Linked DNA regions of Homo sapiens: region 1 is linked to region 2. The links are contacts of gene promoters, found by promoter capture Hi-C in human tissues and cell types (Jung and others, 2019). All regions are on one chromosome and are shown on one strand. The core of a region is centred on a gene start or on the middle of the fragment in contact, and the rest is flanking DNA. Distances in the headings are between cores, read along the strand shown.

Evidence for each region. The method cuts DNA at HindIII sites, captures the fragments that hold promoters and counts their contacts. A contact is called where the count stands out against the background at its distance.
Region 1: a fragment that was not itself captured here is called in contact with the fragment with the promoter of NCOR1 in region 2 in 1 of the 25 tissues and cell types used here (adrenal gland).

The regions. Positions count from the first base shown.
Region 1 is chr17:16,453,065-16,457,514 of GRCh38, forward strand. The region is part of intron 2 of LRRC75A (leucine rich repeat containing 75A); the gene reads right to left. The region is part of intron 3 of SNHG29 (small nucleolar RNA host gene 29); the gene reads left to right. Among named protein-coding and RNA genes, the nearest start is that of SNORD65, 14 kb to the left of the region's middle. RefSeq lists enhancers at 3,317-3,818, 3,819-4,318. The HindIII fragment of the contact is 8,128 bases long and covers 1-4,450 here.
Region 2 is chr17:16,214,267-16,218,567 of GRCh38, forward strand. It overlaps NCOR1 (nuclear receptor corepressor 1), which reads right to left and starts at 1,268. Exons shown (of 46, transcript NM_006311.4): 1 at 1,096-1,268. PIGL (phosphatidylinositol glycan anchor biosynthesis class L) reads left to right here and starts at 2,944. Exons shown (of 7, transcript NM_004278.4): 1 at 2,944-3,195. The coding sequence starts at 2,961. RefSeq lists enhancers at 64-980, 981-1,896, 1,474-1,533, 2,720-2,969 and a silencer at 734-1,203. The HindIII fragment of the contact is 13,683 bases long and covers 822-4,301 here.

The sequences.
Region 1 (4,450 bases), core at 1,431-3,930, 240 kb after region 2:
CGGATCACAAGGTCAGGAGTTCGACACCAGCCTGTCCAATATGGTGAAACCCCATCTCTACTAAAAATACAAAAATTAGCCAGGCGTAGTCGTGGGTGCCTGTAGTCCCAGCTACTTGGGAGGCTGTGGCAGGAGAATCGCTTGAACCCGGGAGGTGGAGGTTGCAGTGAGCCGAGATCGCGCCACTGAACTCTGGCCTGGGCGCCAGAGTGGGACTGGTGTGGGACTCCTAAACACACACACACACGCACACACGCACACACGCACACGCACACACGCACACGCACACACACACACACGAGAACAGAGGACAAGGGGGCATCACTGCACTGCCATTGCCACAAGGGGGCAGCCACGCACAGGGCCAGGCTCGGGATGGAAGTGTATCTGCCACTACCAGGGAGAACTGAGGAGCCTGCGTCTCCTCACTGGCTAGACAGGAACAATAGATATGGACACCTCATAGAGTTGCCTTGAGAGCACAAGTGAGCTGATGTTCTCTCAGGAGTGAGAGTTCCCTTCTGCTTGTCTGAACTAAACTGACAACAGCTAACATGTATTGAGCAGCTGCGATGCATTGGGCATCTCCTCTGAGCACTGTTTGCATGAACATTTTGGGGCTCAGAACACAATTCCAAAGCATGGCGCCGGGGCCAGCAGAGAGCTTTGAACTAACGGAAATTGGAAGGCCTCAGAAGCAAAGTTTTTCTGCCCTTCTGCTGCCCTCCTGTCTCTGGCCCTTCTTCTCCCCCAGAGTGAGTCAGAGAAACCAGAATTCTTCTTCCCCAAGGCAGGTCACAGAGACCAGAACCCCTCTCCCTCAAAGCAAGCCATAAAACTAGGCAGGTCACTCTCTCCCTTCTGTCTTGAAGACCATTCCAGAGGGGTAGGAAGGAACACTGCAGAGAGAGGCCAAGAAGAATCTGAGCAGATAGCCTTCCTGGGTCCCCTCGGCCTATCACCATTAGATCACACCCTTTGTCCAATCGCATTTCTACAAGCTTGTGCACTCTTTACCAAGCCTGAGTATAAAAACAGATAGCTGGCTGAGTGTGGTGGCTCACGCCTGTAATCCCAGCACTTTGGGAGGCCGAGGTGGGTGGATCACCTGAGGTCAGGAGTTCGAGACTAGCCTGGCCAACACGGCGAAACTCCATCTCTACTAAAAATACAAAAAATTAGCTAGGCATGGTGGCGGGCACCTGTAGTCCCAGCTACTTGGTAGGCTGAGGCAGGAGAGTTGCTTGAACCCAGGAGGTGGAGGGTCCAGTGAGCCGAGATCACGTCATTGCACTCCAGCCTGGGCAACAGAGTGAGACTCTGTCAAAAAACAAACAAACAAACAGGCCAGGCGTGGTGGCTCATGCCTGTAATCCCAGCACTTTGGGAGGCAGAGGGGGGCGGATCACCTGAGGTTGGGAGTTTGAGACCAGCCTGACCAACATGGAGAAACCCCATCTCTACTGAAAATACAAAATTAGCCAGGCATGGTGGTGCATGTCTGTAATCCCAGCTGCTCGGAAGGCTGAGGCAGGAGAATCGCGTGAACCCAGGAGGCAGAGGTTGAGGTGGGCCGAGATCACGCCACTGCACTCCAGCCCGGGCAACAAGAGCAAAATTCCGTTTTAAAATAAATAAATAAATATAATTAAAATAAACAAATTCTAACAAACAAAAAACCAAAAAAACAAAAAAACCTCTTTCCCTGGGGTTTGGGGTCTTCATTTCTTTCTTTTTTTAAAGAGATGGGGGTCTCACTATATTGGCCTTGCTGGTATTGAATTCCTGGACTCATGTAATCCTCCTGTATCAGCCTCCCAGGTAGCTGGGGCTAAGGGTCCTCATTTCTTTTCTTTTCTTTTCTTTTCTTTTTTTTTTTTAGTGACGGAGTCTTGCTCTGTCCCCGCCCTCAGGCTGGAGTACAGTGGCACCATCTCAGCTCATTGCAACCTCCGTCTCCCAGGTTCAAGTGATTCTCCTGGCTTAGCCTCCCGAGTAGCTGGGATTACAGGCGCGTGCCACCACGCCCAGCTAATTTTTGTATTTTTAGTAGAGACAGGGTTTCACTATGTTGGCCAGGTTGGTCTTGAACTCCTGACCTCAGACGATCCGCCTGCCTCGGCCTCCCAAAGTGCTGGTATTACAGGTGTGAGCCACCGTGCCTCACCTGAGCGTCTTCATTTCTGAAAGCTCCCATGTTGCGTAAAATTTTGATTAAACACATTTGTTCTGCTTTTTTGTTACCCTGTGTCTGGTTATAGGAGTGTCAGCCATGACCCTTATAATGAGTGAGGGAAAAGTACCACACAGTTCTGCCCTACAATTTTTTTTTTTAGACGGAGTCTTGCTCTGTCGCCCGGCTGGAGTGCAGTGGCGCAATCTCAGCTCAATGCAACCTCCATCTCCCAGATTCAAGCGGTTCTCTTGCTTCAGCCTCCCGAGTAGCTGGGACTACAGGCACCCGCCATCCATGCCCGGCTAATTTTTTTTGTATTTCTATTAGAGACGGGGTTTCACCATGTTGGTCAGGCTGGTCTCAAATCCTGACCTCAAGTGGTCCACCTGCCTCGACCTCCCTAAGTGCCCTACAAACTATAGTCCCATACCTTACTACAACCCTATGAGACAGGTATTATTAATAACCCCGCTTTACAAATGAGGGAACTGAGGCAAAAAGAACTTAAATAGATGGGCAAGGCCTCCCAGCTTGTAAGACGGAGTCAGGATCTAAAGTCAGCCAGCTCTGAGGCTGATGCTCCTAACCGCTATCTGCTGCCCTCCTTGTGAGAAATCCTGTCTTTGGCTTAGGTCAGTTCAAAGTGTTTCTATCATTTACAACCAGAAAAGCCTTCAGTGAGACTGTCTCATTTTTTCCCAACTCTTCCACTTTTCAAAGAACCCCTCCAGGGCTCCCTCCTGCAGAGAACAGGACTAGGCAGCACTGGCCCAGAAGTGGAGCAGTAAGAAGGTGGGGAACGGGGGGAGGGAGAGGAGGAGAAGGAGGAAGAGGAAGAGGGAGAGGAGGAGGAGGAAGGGGAGGGGGAGGAGGAGGAGTAGCAGTAGTAGGAGGAGGAGGAAGAGGAGGGAGAGGAGGAGGAAGAGGAGGGGTAGGAGGAGGAAGAGGAGGAAGGAGGAGGAAGAGGAGGAGGAAGAGGAGGAAGAAGAGGAGAAAGGAGGAGAAGAAGGAAGAGGATCAGGAAGAGGAGGAGGAGGAAGAGGAGGAGGAAGAGAAGGAAGAGGAGGAGGAGGAAGAGGAGAAGAAGGAAGAGGAGGAGGAAGAGAAGGAAGAGGAGGAGGAAGAGAAGGAAGAGGAGGAGGAAGAGAAGAAGGAAAAGGAGGAAGAGGAGGAGGAGGAAGAGGAGCAGAAGAAGGAAGAGGAGGAGGAAGAGGAAGAAGAGGAGAAGGAGAAAGAAGAGGAGGAGGAAGAGGAAGAGGAGGAGGAAGCTGGACTTGACACTGAGACACACATACCCTAACTCCTCCAGTGGCTGGAACCCTGAGAAGTAACCTGGGAGCCATAGCTAGCCACATTCCCTACCATGCGGCAGGGGGAAGAGCAGTCTGTGCAGAGGGAACACAGAGGGAGGCAGGGTAGAGCAGCGAGGAGGGAAGGAGGGACCTCTGCACCGTGCTTATCTATAGTTCTAGCACCTTGGTCTAACTTGGCTGCCCGTGGGCACCACAAGACACCTCGATATCTGTAGAACACATTTTCTTCCTTGCTGGAGCCAGCCCGCCTGGGCTTCTGTTATGTGCAGCAGAATCCTAACCCGCCCAGAAGGCTCAATGGCTGTGTGCTGAATCAATGCTTTGCAGTCCTCCCCCGATCCCTGAAGATGGCAGGAGTGGGATGTGGCACAGTCAAGTGACTATGAGTGCAGGTCAGGGCAGCAGCCTCTCCAGACCTTCCCAGTGAGGCTGCCCAGGTCCTGGGGCAGAACGTGTTTGAGGGGCTTCTCATTAATCTGTCAGGAAAGATGACGTGCTGACCTGCAGGCTGACCTGGGAGGGGTACCAGCACCCGACACTGCTCTGGCTCTCAGCCATCAGGCAGTGATACCATCTGCCATCTTCACTCCCCAGGCACCTCTGTAACTGCTCCAGGACCCCGACAAGCACAGCCCTCCACTGCCCTCCATTCAAGGCTATCCCTCCCTCATCCATAAATTCATTCATACATTCATCAAATGTTGACTGTCCCCCTCATTACACTGGACACCATTCCAGATGCAGAGACTGTGTGCCGGCTTTTCTGTTTCCTCTTGCCCCACAGTCCACTCTGCCCTTCTCTGCTCAGAAGGCTGGGCTCTAGAGACTGCATCACTGGGCTCTCTTCCCCCTGGCTTCCACTTGGGTTCAGCTAATGGGAGCAATGGCAGCAAGACCAGAGGGCAGGAGGAGAGACGGATGGGGGAGTTTATTCTGATTCCCCCACTTCGGCATGTGCAGC
Region 2 (4,301 bases), core at 18-2,517:
CAACTCTTCAGTTATCCACAGGACAATCACATGTGACCCAGCATCAGCAGCTATTGATCAAGATATATTGAACGAATGAATGAATCTTTGTAGGCATTTTTAAATCCCGGGCCTGTTGCTCCTTGCACAGTGCCATGTTCAGCCTTCCATCACTGCCTCACCAGGGTGCACACAAGGAATGTAAATTTCAATATAATTAGGATATAATTAGAGAAGCAAATCTGATGCAGGTTTACATACTAATCCCAAAGATTAGAATTACCTATACTACTACTCTCCAAGGTTAACTCTGTGGAAGAGGCACCGCAGCATGCAACATCACATAAAGAAAACTGACACTTCCTGAGCAAATAGTTTTCGTCCATATCACTTATTCCCATCCATTCCTTTAATACATGACTATTCCTGATCCAGTTAATTTGAAGAATTCAGTCTCCTCTCCATAAAGGCTGATTTCACAACTACAGTTTCTCAAATTCCTCTCTCCCCAAAAAGGGGTGCACTTACGGACTTCGCTTAAGAAAACACCAACAATAAACGGCAGAAGGTATAGTGTTCGGATCTTTGCCATCTCCACCAGTACCCAGCCTTCGCCATTACACCCTGAAGCGGTCTGTTAGAAAGGTGAACTAATTTACTCTGCACGCACTTGTCCATGGCTGTCAACCTCCGCAGCCCCTTCTACACTTCCAAGTCGGCCACCAACTCCGCCTCAGTGAGCCCAGGCCCGCCACCTGCGCCGGCCCCACCCGGGGCACCGGCTGCCCGCTCTCCCTCGCAGGCCCTGTAGGCTCCGCACGCCCCTCCGCACAGGACACCTCGGGGCCAGCCCCGGCCCGGCCACAGCCCATTCTTCCTCCAAACTCCATAAGCCTCCGCTAGCCCAGCCCGAGCTCCCCGCCGCGCCCGGCTCTCTCCTGGGCTGCCGAGTGGAAGAGGCCAGGCGGCCAGGACGGGTCCCGACCTGCCCAGGCCTGCGACACCCCCCGCCCGGCGGAGAAACCGTCCCAGCGGCTGCTGCCCCGGGAGCCCTCGGAAGCCCCCGGACTAGCAGGAGCCCGGAGGCCGGGGTTGCAGGCGCCAGGGCCTACTCACCGGGAGCTGGCTAAGCGTGGGAGCCGACGTGCGCCCCGGCCTGAGGAGTGGGACGCGGCCACGGCGCGCGGCCCTACACCGGGACCTCGTTCGGCGCGGCGAGTCGGACGCTCACTCCAGCCGCCGCCGCCGCCGCGGCTGCTGCTTCGCCACCTTGGCCGCCATCTTGACTCAACCCCTCTCCCTCCCCCCAGCCCGCGGAGCCGCGGCTAAGGCGGCTCCAGCGCCGGCTCCTCCTCCTTCCGGAGAGTTGGGAGACCAACTCCCTCCGCTGGCCGGGCGCCTCTCCTACCTCGGCGGAGCTTCCCGGGTCGCGCTGCGCCCGGTCTCTTCATGTCTCCTCTAGGCCTGGCAGCGGCGGTCCTCTCGGACGGATACGGGGCCGAGCAGCGCCCAGCCGGATCCAGCGCTGCTGCCATCGTGCCCTGGGCTTGTGCGCCCCCCGCCTGCCCGTCTGTTCCGCGCGCCCGAGGCCTTCCTCAGGCGTGGGAAAAGGAAAAACTCCAGGCCGTGGAAGGGACCCTGCAAACCCCTCCGCGGCGTGGTGGGGCGGCGGCGGCCTCCTCTGGCCGGAGCTGCGTACAGGGAAGCCGGTCCCCTCGTGGCTGGGAGCTGGAGGGGTGCATTTCGACCTGCCCAAGATACTTTCTAGGGCTCTGGCTGGAATTCGCACCAAGCCCTCACTGAAATGCTGGGCGAGGCCGATTTGTCCACGATGTTGCTCCTTAACCTTAAGTTACTTGCAAGAGGAGCCTGTGGCCCTCGCGACTGTTAAGTGCACGCTCAGCCTCACCCTGCTGGGGAAACGACGGTTCCTCGTAACCGCACGCATACGTTCCTTTAGAAAAGCCAGGCCCGACCGGACGCAGTGGGTCACGCTTGTAATCCCAGCACTTAGGGAGGCCGAGGCGGGCCATCACTTAAGGTCAGGAGTTCGAGACCAGCCTGACGAACATGGAGAAACCCCGTCACTACTAAAAATACAAAAATTAAGCGGGCGTGGTGGCGCGCGCCAGTAATCCCAGCTACTGGGGAGACCGAAGTGGGAGAATTGCTTGAACGCGGGAGGCTGAGGTAGCAGCGAACCTAGGTCGCGCCACTGCACTCCAGCCTGGGCGACGGAGCCAGACCGTTTCAAAAAAAAAAAAGAAAGGGCCGGGCGCGGTGGCTCAGGCCTGTAATCCCAGCACTTTGGGAGGCCGAGGCGAGCGGATCACGAAGTCAGGAGTTCGAGACCAGCCTAGTTAACATGGTGAAACCCCCTCTCTACTAAAAATACAAAAATTAGCTGGGCGTGGTGGCGCGCGCCTATAGTCCCAGCTACTCGGGAGGCTGAGGCAGAAGAGTCGCTTGAACCCGGGAGACAGAGGTTGCAGTGAGCCGAGATCGCTCCACTGCACTCCAGCCTGGGCGACAGAGCCTCTCAAAAAAAAAAAAAAAGGTAAAGAAAGCCATCCAAAAGTGAGAAGGAATAACAAAGTTGGTGTAACTGGCTATTTTGGAAAACTGTCATACGGATAACGGGCTGTCTAACCCTATAATTACGAGAAAGGCCCGAGTTTTAAGAAATGAATTCGAAAATGAAGAGGAAGGAACTCTTCCTATAAGTGGGAGCTTATATATAAGACGCTTCCTTTTAAACCGATTGTACAGTGTGGTAGGACTAGGGTAGGAAACTGGACGGCATGGAGACTTCTGTGTTAAAACACAAGAGAACCCTTAACGTTAAAACCTCAAGCTTCCGGAGCATGTCGGCGGGAGGGACTTAACAGCGGAACCCAACATTCCCCGGTGAAGTTTTCCAGCCGGAGTCAGGGTCAGAGGCAGCCTTTCCTACTGCGCAGGCTCAGTGCTGCTTACCCATCATGGAAGCAATGTGGCTCCTGTGTGTGGCGTTGGCGGTCTTGGCATGGGGCTTCCTCTGGGTTTGGGACTCCTCAGAACGAATGAAGAGTCGGGAGCAGGGAGGACGGCTGGGAGCCGAAAGCCGGACCCTGCTGGTCATAGCGCACCCTGACGATGAAGCCATGTTTTTTGCTCCCACAGTGCTAGGCTTGGCCCGCCTAAGGCACTGGGTGTACCTGCTTTGCTTCTCTGCAGGTAGGAGGCCATAGGAGGGGCGATGGGAGCCGGGGCTTTGAAAGGGATTTAAGTGCTAACCGATCTCAGTCGCCTTCTTCTCGAAGTTTTCCGTAGGGAGCTAAGTGAATACACCGAAGGTCTTACCTCTGAACCCCTCACAGCCTAGGGACAGGAGCGGCCGGCTTACCTGGTGGGTTGGGGGACGTCGGCAGCTCGCGTACTACGCCAGCAGGATTGAGGAGCAGAGAAACAGTTGCAGTTGGTTGTATTCAGTACCTGCATTTCCGTTGGGAACTCCACCTGTACTTGTTATTCTGTGGAACTTTTTTTTATTTGTAGAAGGAGCAAGAATATTGACCTTACTATATAGCACACGAAACAATCTATGCTGTATCGTGCCTGCTCAATCCTTAAAGTTAACTTCTAATGATAGTAAAAGACCTTCCTGCTGCCTTTAAAATGCAGCTTGTGCTAGTAACATGCATGTGTCAAATTGAAGAATTAGACATAGATGACTAGATAGAAAGTAATTTTGTAGGTAATTTTAGAGTTCAACTCCACCCAGCTTTCAGTGAAGGAACCTTTCAAATAATAGATTTTTGCTTACCATAGAGAAAAGATCAAATGACAAAGCAAATATTGACCATTAAGCTGGAATATGGTGATAATTGAACAGTTGTATAAATGAAGTAATTGAATTGTACACATACAATGGGTGAATTTTATGGCATGTCAAAGTATACCTCAATAAAGCTATTTTTTTAAATTGCCCATGACCTCTTTTCCCATTTGTTTGTGTGTCTTTCCAATTCTTTTTCTATACAGCTTCTTCACAGAAATCACATTTTATAAAATTTTATATCGTTTTTACTCGACATTACTTTTTCATTTATTTACCAAATACTTATTAAACATTTATGTGCTAGGCCTTATTCTATGCCCTAGGGATACAAAAGTGGAAAGCTAGATAAGAGCAGTGTCCTCATGAAACTTTAAACATCTACCTATATTAATTAGATCTAAATGTATAGCCTGTTAAATGGCTTCATCGGGATAAACCTTAATCATCCCTTATTGTTTGTACATTCAGAGGGTTTTTTCCTAGTTTATTGCAAAGAGCAGAG